Linked DNA regions of Homo sapiens: region 2 is linked to region 1. Evidence: promoter capture Hi-C in 16 types of primary human blood cells and fetal thymus (Javierre and others, 2016). All regions are on one chromosome and are shown on one strand. Each heading gives the region's core, a stretch centred on a gene start or on the middle of the fragment in contact. The rest is flanking DNA. Distances are from core to core; before and after follow the strand shown.

What was found. Contacts are between HindIII fragments. The CHiCAGO score rates a contact against its expected background, and 5 or more counts as called.
Region 2: a contact is called between a fragment that was not itself captured here and the fragment with the promoter of KLHDC1 in region 1, in 2 of 17 cell types (activated CD4 T cells and fetal thymus). The highest score is 6.0, in activated CD4 T cells.

What each region holds. Positions count from the first base shown.
Region 1 is chr14:49,689,304-49,694,437 of GRCh38, reverse strand. It overlaps KLHDC1 (kelch domain containing 1), which reads right to left and starts at 1,318. Exons shown (of 13, transcript NM_172193.3): 1 at 1,148-1,318. The coding sequence starts at 1,243. RefSeq lists silencers at 944-1,113, 1,124-1,173. The HindIII fragment of the contact is 4,227 bases long and covers 1-1,826 here.
Region 2 is chr14:50,133,006-50,138,701 of GRCh38, reverse strand. It overlaps SOS2 (SOS Ras/Rho guanine nucleotide exchange factor 2), which reads left to right. Exons shown (of 23, transcript NM_006939.4): 18 at 1-90; 19 at 4,463-4,579. Among named protein-coding and RNA genes, the nearest start is that of VCPKMT, 19 kb to the right of the region's middle. The HindIII fragment of the contact is 3,697 bases long and covers 1-3,347 here.

The DNA of each region.
Region 1 (5,134 bases), core at 69-2,568:
TCTGCAATACTTCGAGGTATGCCTGTATGTTGGTCATTTCAATATGATTCAGTCACGTTACAGGTCTGTCACATAATGGTAGGGAGACAGAAGATGTAGGTTCTACTATCAGTAGAACTTCCAGATGGCTTAAGAAAAAAAATCTGTAAACTAAGAGGGTTGGCATATAGTATTCCTGTTTTCCAGCTTTACCATTCTTGCTTCTATAATTCTGTGATTATGGACACACAACACACACATACGCTCAAACCTCCATTGTAGTAAGAATTTTAAAGCATAATATTTCTTAGCATATTATTGCTAACATGCGTCTATTTTGAGACTAGAAAAAATAGTCATTAGTAAAGAAACGCCACTAAAAATAGCTTAGAAATATTTAAAATGCAAGCCAGGCACAGTGGCTAATGCCTGTAATCCCAGCATTTTGGGAAGCCAAGGCGGGCGGATCACCTGAGGTCGCGAGTTCAAGACCAGCCTGACCAACATGGGAAACCCTGTCTCTATTAAAAATACAAAATTAGCCAGGCATGATGGCACATGCCGGTAAGCCCAGCTACTAGGGAGGCTGAGGCAGGAGAATCGCTTGAACCCGGGGCGGGGGGCGGAGGTTGCGGTGAGCTGAGATCGTTCCATTGCACTCCAGCCCTGGGCAACAAGAGCGAAACTCCATCTCAAAAAAAAAAAAAAAAGAAAAAGAAAAGAAAATAAATATTTAAATGCTTCAGTGATTTCGATATTTTATTTCGAATCGCGCCGTGGGAATAAGGAAATATATACAAAATGATACAGCACGGCGTCCTCGGGTCCTTCTAGGTCTGCGCCAGTATTTAAGGATAATAATTAATCGCGCTGTAACTGCCTTTGCATTGGGCAAACCGTGGTTACTGAATTGCTGGCAAAGAGGGGCGGAGAGTGGTAAGAGGCCCGGAGCCGGGTCTGAGGCTTTAATAGAAGAAGCAACGGCGGGACGACGTCAAGCCCTGGCGCGGCTGTGGGGGCGGCGGCCAGCGGAGGGGCTGGGGGGCTGCAGGCGCCGGGCGCGCCAGGCCTGGGCCGCAGCCTCGGGAGCGGGTGTGGCGGGCGCTGCGTCCGCTCAGGCCGAGGGTCTCCCGGCGCGAGTCTACCCCGTCCCGCCTCTTCCCCTTACCACGTAGCCCCCCCACACGTAGAGGAAGTTTCCGTCCACCACGGCGCAGTGGCCGCTGCGTTCCTCCGCCACACAGAACAGCTGAGAGTCCGCCATTCGCGCCGTCGCTGGCCCGCCGCTTGCCGCGCCACAACCCCTGCCCGCCCGGCGGCCTCGCCTCCAGCCCCGACTGCTCCACGCACGAACGGAACGCGGCGAGGGTCGAGATTGGTGGGAAGGCGGAGCCAGTGCGTCTGCAACGTCCCGCGGCTCTCGCTCGGGAAGTCGAGCCAGGGGCGGCGCGGCTGTGGAGGGACGTTCTGGCTCCTCGCAGTGGGCAAGGGGCCTGGGCTTTCCACGCGCAGATTCCTTCTCTCTTGGAATTGTGTTTTGGCAGTACAGCCTCATTTAGTAGTCAGTCTGTAGTCAGATTCCTTGATTATCTCAAAATGTCTTTTCTATAGTTGGTTTGTTCAGCACCGTAATTCGTTGTTAACGCCTCTTAAGACTTTACGTCTGTTTTACTCTAGAATAGCTTCTCTCCCTTCTCTCTTGTGCCATTTGTTTGTTATATGGATTAGTTTTCTTATTTTCCTACAGCCGTACCACCTTCTGGGTTTGGTTCCTCAGTGTCTTTTCTCATTAACTTGTGCATCCTTTCCCCATACTTCTTTTAGGCTGGAAGCTGTATCTAAAAGCTTTATTAGATTCTAGTTCAGATTTTTTTTTGGAAAATACTTCATATTGCATCACATTAGAAGGCACTTAAGTCTGGTGCACTTTAATGATACTTTCTATTGTTTATTTTTGACTATACAAATAAACAGAGTATCTGCTCCTTTTCTTACACAAAAGGAAGTATATACAGTGTTCCTTAACTTTCTCTTTTCACTTGACGATCCATATCAGGATACAGCAAGCAGTCTCCTCAGTCCTTTTCATAGCTTCATAGCACTCCACCGATTGGATGTGTCATAGCTTATTCAAACAGATTCTTATTGATGGACATATCGGTTATTTCCAGGTTTTTTTGGCTATCATAAATAATGCTGCGATGAAACGTTATGCATATGTTATTTTGTATTTGTACAAGCCTATCTTTGGAGTAGAGTTCTAGATGTGGAATTGCTGGGTCAGAGGATAAATGCATATTTAACTTTACAAATGTAACTGGATTGCAGTGGCTCACGCCTCTCATCTAAGCACTTTGGGAGGATGAGGTAGGCGGATCACTTGAGCTCAGGAGTTTGAGACCAGCCTGGCCAACCTGGGCAATCCCGTCTCTACTAAAAATACAAAAATTAGCCGGGCGTGGTGGCGCATGCCTGTAATCCCAGCTACAAAGGCAAGAGAATCGCTTTAACCCGGGAGGTGGAGGTTGCAGTGAACCGAGATCGCGCCACTGCACTCCGGTCTGGGCGACAGAGCAAGGTTCCTTAGAAAGAAAGAGAGAAAGAGAGAGAGAGGGAAAGGGAGAGAGAAAGAAAGAAAAAGGAGGAAGGGAGGGAAGGAAGAAGGGAGGGAGGGAGGAAGGGAGGAAGGAAGGAAGAAATTCAAGATAGACAAAAGTGATCTATGATAATAGAAAGCAGAAAAGTGGTCATTTGGGAGTAGGGAGGGGGAGGGGACTGATGGAAAGGAGTACAGGAAGTGTTCTGGAGTGATTAAAATGTTCTGTATCTTGATTGAGGTGGTGGTTACATGGGTGTATACATTTATCAAAATGCATTGAACTGCATACAGATATGTGCATTTTACTTAGTGTAAACTATATGTCAATCATAATTCTCACTCCATCACTTTATTGTTACTAGTAATATTGGTATTGTATTTTTGAAATGGAGCATTTGTCCTCCTGGACTGTAGAGTCTGGTGGAGTCTATAGACCAGCAAACAGACAATTACCATACCGTGCAGTAAGTGTGAAAATAGCAAAAGTCCAGGGCACCTTGGGTGTACAGAGGCCCTTTAACTCAGATTGAGGGAAGACAGGGAAGGTTCCTGAGAGAAAGTAAAGTCTAAGTTAAGAACTGAATGATGAACGGAAGTTGTTCAAGGAACTTTCATTCGTGAGAGGGAAGAGTCAAGGATATGCCTAGTTTACCAGCTTGGTCACTGGGTGGGAGGTGGGTGGAGCCCTTCGCTAGGTTATTGAACATGGGAGGAGGAACAGGTTTGGGGGAGGGCAGGGCTAATGGTGAGTTCATTTGGAGGCATATTGAGTTGGATTTGAAGTCTAAGAGAGCTAAGGGCTAGAGATAGGGATTTTGGAGTCATCAGCATATAATTGTTCATTTAAGTATTGGGACTTTATGAGCTGGCCAGGTGAAGGAGCCATAGAAGAAGTTGAAAATTTATTAGAGAAAGAGAATTATGATTGGGAACATTTATGGGAAAAGGGGAATTGTGAGGTCAGATTGTGAGAGAAAGCTGGGCAACTGGAATTGATTATTTTCTCTCCAATTTCTTAATATAAAAAGTAGCAAACCAAAAAAAGTTGAAAAAATAGTTCAAAGAGTACCTGTGTATCTTCCACTCCAGGTTAATAATTATTAATACTACCATACTAGCTTTATGTTTGTTGGTATGTGTGTGTCTGTCTTTTTCATTTTGTTGAATTATTTGAGAGTGGGAGTGCCTTATGGAGAAAATACATGTGATAAATAAGCTTCCTTCAGCTATGAGTTATAGGGCTCTTGGCCCTGAGTTCAGTGTTAACGAATCACAATGTAAAGATGTCTTTACATAAAAACACACATAAAACAAGGTTATAGGCCGGGCGCGGTGGCTCACGCCTGTAATCCCAGCACTTTGGGAGGCCGAGACGGGGGGATCACGAGGTCAGGAGATCGAGACCATCCTGGCTAACACGGTGAAACCCCGTCTCTACTAAAAATACAAAAATTAGCCGGGCATGGTGGCGCGCGCCTGTAGTCCCAGCTACACGGGAGGCTGAGGCAGGAGAATGGCGTGAACCCGGGAGGCGGAGCTTGCAGTGAGTCGAGATCGCGCCACTGCACTCCAGCCTGGGCGACAGAGCGAAACTCCGTCTCAAAAAAAAAAAAAAAAAAAAAACAAAACAAGGTTATATGTTGATCAGTTGATGAAAACATTGTCACCAGAGGCTCACAGGAACCTAATTCTGTACTTCCCCTAGTAGGAATGGTTTAGTATTCAATAATTATTTGTTGGTGGCTACTTATAAAATCTAACTATCACAGGTACAGTAATGAGAATTAACTATATGTCTTTCTATTCGTATTTCCTATCCTTTCTTACATAAAAATTAAAAATTTCTTTGTACTTTTTGTCTTTGAAAAATATTTCACTAAATAAAGAGAACTGTGTTCAAAAATCACTTGTGATGTTATGTTACCAATTTAATATACAATTAGGTGTATTAGTTTTAGTATGCATTCAATTTTAAGCTCACCTTTTTATTTTCTATTTTTTGAATATGTAAAACATGCACATGGATTAAAAGTCTCACTGTAAAGAAAGTTTTCACTTTCATCCCTATCCCCTCACCCCTTTGTAGTTAACCATTTTTGTGGTCTCTGATTTAACCTTCCAGAGTTGTTTTGTTGTTGTTGTTGCTGTTGTTTTGAGACAGAGTCTCACTCTTGTTGCCTAGGCTGGAGTGTAATGGCCCCATCTCGGCTCACCGCAACCTCTGTCTCCCGGGTTCAGACAATTCTCCTGCCTCAGCCTCCCGAGTAGCTGGGATTACAGGCATGCGCCACCATGCCTGGCTAATTTTTTTGTATTTTTGTAGAGACGGGGTTTCTCCATGTTGGTCAGGCTGGTCTCGAACTCCTGACCTCAGATGATCCGCCCACCTCGGCCTCCCAAAGTGCTGGGATTACAGGCGTGAACCACTGCGCCCGGCTTTTTTTGTTTTTGAGACAGAGCCTTGCTTTGTTGCCCAGGCTGGAGTGGTGGCACGATCTCGGCTCACTGCACCCTCCGCCTCCGAGGCTCAAGAGATTCTCCTGCCTCAACCTCCCC
Region 2 (5,696 bases), core at 250-2,749, 440 kb before region 1:
AGTAAGAGGAGGAAAGTAGCTGAAATTACTGGAGAAATTCAGCAGTATCAGAATCAGCCTTACTGTTTACGGATAGAACCAGATATGAGGGTAAATATTTTCTTTGCATATCTTTAGAAGAGAACGTGTTAATGGGTACCAAAAAAAAAAAATAGAATGAATAAGACATACTATTGGATCGCACAACAGGGTGACTACAGTCCATAATAATTTAATTGCAGATTTAAAAGTAACTGTAAGAGGCCAGGCACTGTGGCTCACGCCTGTAATCCCAGCACTTTGGGAGGCCAAGGCGGGCGGATCGCTTGAGATCAGGAGTTGGAGACCAGCCTGGGCAGCATGGCGAAACCCCGTCTCTACTAAAAATATAAAAAAAAATTAGCTGGGCATGGTGCTGGGTGCCTGCAGTCCCAGCTACTCAGGAGTCTGAGGTGGGAGAATCACTTGAGCCTAGGAGGGGTAGGTTGCAGTGAGCCGAGATAGCGCCACTGCACTCCAGCCTGGGTGACACAGTAAGACTTCTGTCTCAAAATAATAATAGTAGTAATAACTATAAGTATCGGCTGGGCATGGTGGCTCACGCCTGTAATCACAGCACTTTGGGAGGCTGAGGCGGGAGGACCACTTGAGGTCAAGAATTTGAGACCAGCCTGACCAACATGGTGAAACCCTGTCTCTACTAAAAATACAAAAAATTAGCCGGGCATGGTGGCGGGTGCCTGTAATCCCAGCTACTTGGGAGACTGAAGCAGGAGAATCATTTGAACCCAGGAGGTGGAGGCTGCAGTGAGCCGAGATCATGCCACTGCCTTCCAGCCTGGGTGACAGAGGGAGACTCCGTCTCAAAAAATAAAATAAAAAATATTAACTATAAGAGTATAATTGGATTATTCATAATACAAAGGATAAATGCTTGAGGGAATGGATACCCCACTCTCCATGATGGGATTATTCTACATTACATGCCTGTATCAAAACATCTCTTATACCCTACAAATATATACACCTATTATGTACCCATGAAAATTAAAAATTTTAAAAATTAAAAAAAAATTTTAGATCTTGTGTGACCTGTAAGAAATATCATAATTATTTGTCTTGCTATGAAAATAATAGAAAAAAATTAATCAGTAGATAGCATGTTAAACATTAGACATTCTACACTATCTGCAGTTGTTAATATTGTTACTAAGTACTTTCTTTTGAAAGTATTGCTTCTTTGTGTAGTTGGTTCAAGCTACACCATAAAAAGTGAATGACAAAGTAGAATGATGTCCATGCAGTAAAAAGAAAATTCATTTCTAGATTTGATAGCCATTTTAGATAATGTTACATGTAGCAAAATAACGTTATATAATTCATAAGAACAGTGTGTTTAAATAGGAAAAGGGTCAGCAAAGTGGTATATGTATGCCTGGCAGAAGATGATTTTTCTAACATCCTGTCGATTGATGTTCTATTTTGAGCAATAGTGTGTAATATTGATACTATAGTACTATAAAATATGAAACAACCTTCTAAATTAAACTATGATATTATGTTTATGCTAAATGAATGTTATTATATTATACTTGAACTTGGGAACATATTATAACTATCAACCAGAATAAGTTTACGTGTCATATTAAAAACTGCGCTAAACTTTTTAGACATAATCTGCATGCAAATTGGGCATATTGAGTGAAAATATCCACCATTACTTCCACCCTCCTAAATTATGAGATAGAAACTTCTTTGTTCCCGGTTCAAAACAAAGTACCCTAAAGTCCTAAGAAAAAGACCACCTAAAGCATACCATTTATAAAAATGATAGGTCGGGCACAGTGGCTAATGCCTGTAAATCCAGCACTTTGAGAGGCTGAGGTGGGTGGATCACCTGAGGTCAGGAGTTCAAGACCAGCCTGGCCAACGTGGTGAAACTCTGTCTCCACTAAAAATACAAAAATTCGCTGGGTGTGGTGGCACGTGCTTGTAATCCCAGCTACTCAGGAGGCTGAGGTGGGAGGATCGCTTGGACCCAGAAGGCAAATGTTGCAGAGAACTGAGATAGAGCCACTGCACTCTAGCCTAGGTGACAGAGCGAGACTGCATCTCAAAAAAAAAAAAAAAAGATACTTGCTCTTAAAAAAAATAAAGGTGGTAACCTACTGATGGTGACCTATTTCATCCCCTCTCACCATTGAACCCGCCCTCTGTGATGTGGGGCTTCGGAGAGCTAAGGAAATATGGTCCCCACAGGAATAATGTTACACTTTAATTCGGTATGCTTGAAATAGTACTTTTAGTATTTATATCTCAGAACCATACCTGCTAATTGGTGTTTGTGGTGTGGTCTAGGGTTCCTACCACCATTTAAAGCATTTTTGGGAGGAAGTGTCTTCTATATGATTGAGTCAAACAAAATAAATTTAAAATGTAGACAAAGTAGCTATTCACTTTTCAAATCATACTTAAATAAATAGTATTTAAAATAGAGCAAAGGATGAGGAAATCAAGAATACTGCTGTTATAGCTTTCTGAAAGCCTTTAATTACTAGTGGCTAATATTTAATTTAGCTAACCTGAACATAAGAACACATTGTTTCAGTATTGTTAAAAGAGTAATACAATTTTCTTGAAATTGGCAGAATGCCTTAAAAATGGGAAGAATTTTATACTAGAAATTTTAAAGCTCATTTTGCCTACTGCTAAAGCTAAAACCTAGTACCATTTTTATATATGCTTCTAAACCACTTCAAAATTAAATAAAGCTAAATCCAGTAATTTGCTGCTAAGGAATTTTTCTAAGGAAATCATAAAAAATGTACAGAAAAATTTATATATAGGAGTTAATAAAAATAATTATTATAATAGCAAAAAATTAGAAAGTACCTATATGGATAACTAGCTATATGGAGATTATTACATTCTGAAATATCCATCTGATGAAATACTATAGAGTTAAAATTTGTATTTTGTAAAATAAGCAAACTGGCTGGGTGAGGTGGCTCATACCTGTAATCCCAGCACTTTGGAAGGCTGAGTGAGACTCCATCTCAAAAAAAAAAAAAAAAAAAAAAGCAAACCACATTGAAAAAAGTTAATTGAATATAAACTTCAGAAAGATTAAAATTGATATCCCAGTTTTTCAGGAAAATATATATATAAATTATTAATAATTATATATAAATACATATATACATGCATATATTTACATGCACAGTAAAATCATTGGAAGATAGTCTAATATTTAAATGTAAACAATGATATTTCTGGTTTGTAAGATTACTGTTTCTTTTTCTTTTTTTCTCTTTTTTTGGCAGTGCTAAATCACCTGAATTTTCTACGTTAAAACTTAAATTTAAGCTTAAAATATTTTTTGATAAAGACAAAAATTTTAAACATTTTATTTATTAGGCTTTTTTTAAGAGGAGAGGTCTCACCATATTGCCCTGGCTGGTGTCAAATTCCTGGGCTTAAGCAGTCCCCCGGCCTCAGCCTCCCAAACTGCTAGGATTACAGGTGTGAGCCATCATGGCTTGGCTCAGATAAAAACATTTTTTATACTAGAAGTTAGCACAGATAGGTTTAACTTTATAATCATTCTTTCTTTCTTTCTTTCTTTCTTTCTTTTTTTTTTTTTTTTTTTTTGAGACAGTCTCGCTCTTGTTGCCCAGGCTGGAGTGCAATGGTGTGATCTCGGTTCACCTCAACCTCCGCCTGCCAGGTTCAATTGATTCTCCTGTCTCAGCCTCCTGAGTAGCTGGGATTACAGGCATGCGCCACCACGCCCAGCTAATTTTGTATTTTTAGTAGAGATGGGGTTTCTTCATGTTGGTCAGGCTGGTCTCAAACTCCCGACCTCAGGTGATCCACCCACCTCAGCCTCCCAAAGTGGTGGGATTACAGGCGTGAGCCACCGTGCTCGGCCTATAATCATTCTTGACATTACTTTTAAAGTAATTTAAATGACTACTTTTAAAGTAAAAGGAATTTCCAGAGTAATTATAAATGATCAAGAATGATCTATAAATTGGATTAACAGACCTTAATCTAATTTATCTCCACTTTTTTTCTGATTATCAAAACTTCATTGTGGATTATAACCATAGCTTTGTTCTAAACACTTTTGGTAGCTTACTAGTGATGATCATTTGTTACAATGAGTAGGAGTAAAGTTTCCTAAGGAATAAGTAGTGCTACTGCTGAGCCATTAAAATGATAATAAATGAAAACTCATATTCTTAATAGAACTTTAAGACTAGAATATAACTTCCACAGAAATTATATAATCTTATTCAGAAGTAAAGAGATTGGAATAAGCAACACTTGTGAACTTTTCACATATTGTGGGCTCTTAATGTGTTATTTTTTAGCATTAAATAAGTAATTTTCAGCAAAAAATTTTAATGAGATCTTATTTTAATAAGATCTAAAATATATACTTACTATATATGCACTTGTGTTATTTGTTTAATTCCAGAGATTCTTTGAAAACCTTAACCCCATGGGAAGTGCATCTGAAAAAGAGTTTACAGATTATTTGTTCAACAAGTCACTAGAAATTGAACCTCGAAACTGCAAACAGCCACCTCGATTTGTAAGTCTTTTATAATTTCGGGAACAAGTGTTCTGTTTTTTAAAATATTATTTTCAATGTTTAACAACCTGTTATCTTAAAAATGTAATTGAATGGCTGTTCCTAGGTGTTTTGTTTGCAGTAATATACTATTTCTAAAACTGGGGGGGGAAATGTCAGCCTTTTGATAAAATCTGGTTTATGCCTTATCTTGGTACTACTTATTTATGTGTCTACTTTTGATCCCTCCTAGAATAATACAAAAAGGTGTGAGAAAGTGAGAACTTAATAGGTAGCTGAATGGAACAGAAAAAAAAAGAAAAGACCTGGGAAGGAGTAAGCAAATGTATTTTGGTTCTTGTGACTTGATATGACTTCTGCCATTAGGGCTCCATGGTCCATAGTTGCCTCTGGAACCCATCTCTGTCACTAGAATTTGATGCTACAATTTCCAGTTACTGCAGGAGTTTGCAGTGGCAACAGAAGTAGTAGAAGATGAACTCTAAGTAGCTAAAAGTGAAGCAAGATATAGAAGGAAGTAAAAACACAAACCAACTTTAGGTGAAGCAGGAAGTCAGGTAGTTTCATGCTATCTCATCTTCACAATTGTGTGATATATGAGGGGACTTCAAAAAGTTCATAGAGACCGGGCATGGTGGCTCACACCTGTAATCCCAGCACATTGGGAGACCAAGGCAGGCAGATTGCTTCAGTTCAAGAGTTTGAGACCAGCTTGGGCAACATGGCAAAACCCTGTCTCTACCAAAAATACAAAAAAATTAGCCAGGCATGGTGGTGCACGCCTGGGGGCGGAGGTTGCAGTGAGCCAAGATCACTCCACTTCACTCCAACCTGGGTGACAGAGCAAGACCCCGTCTCAAAAAAAAAAAAAAAGAAAAAAGAAAAAAGAAAAAAAGTTCATGGAAAAATGGAATGAAAAGATAAATTTTTTTGATGGAATTAAAAGATAAACATAAAAACATAAACTTTATTTCCCAACATAAGCTTCCTCAAGTTCAGGACACTTTTGTAAGCGCTAATACCAACCATTTTGTCCATCCCTAAAAAACTAAAGATCCTGGGAATTTAACCATATCATTGCAGTCTCTTTTACATTATTAACTGAAGAAAAATGGTT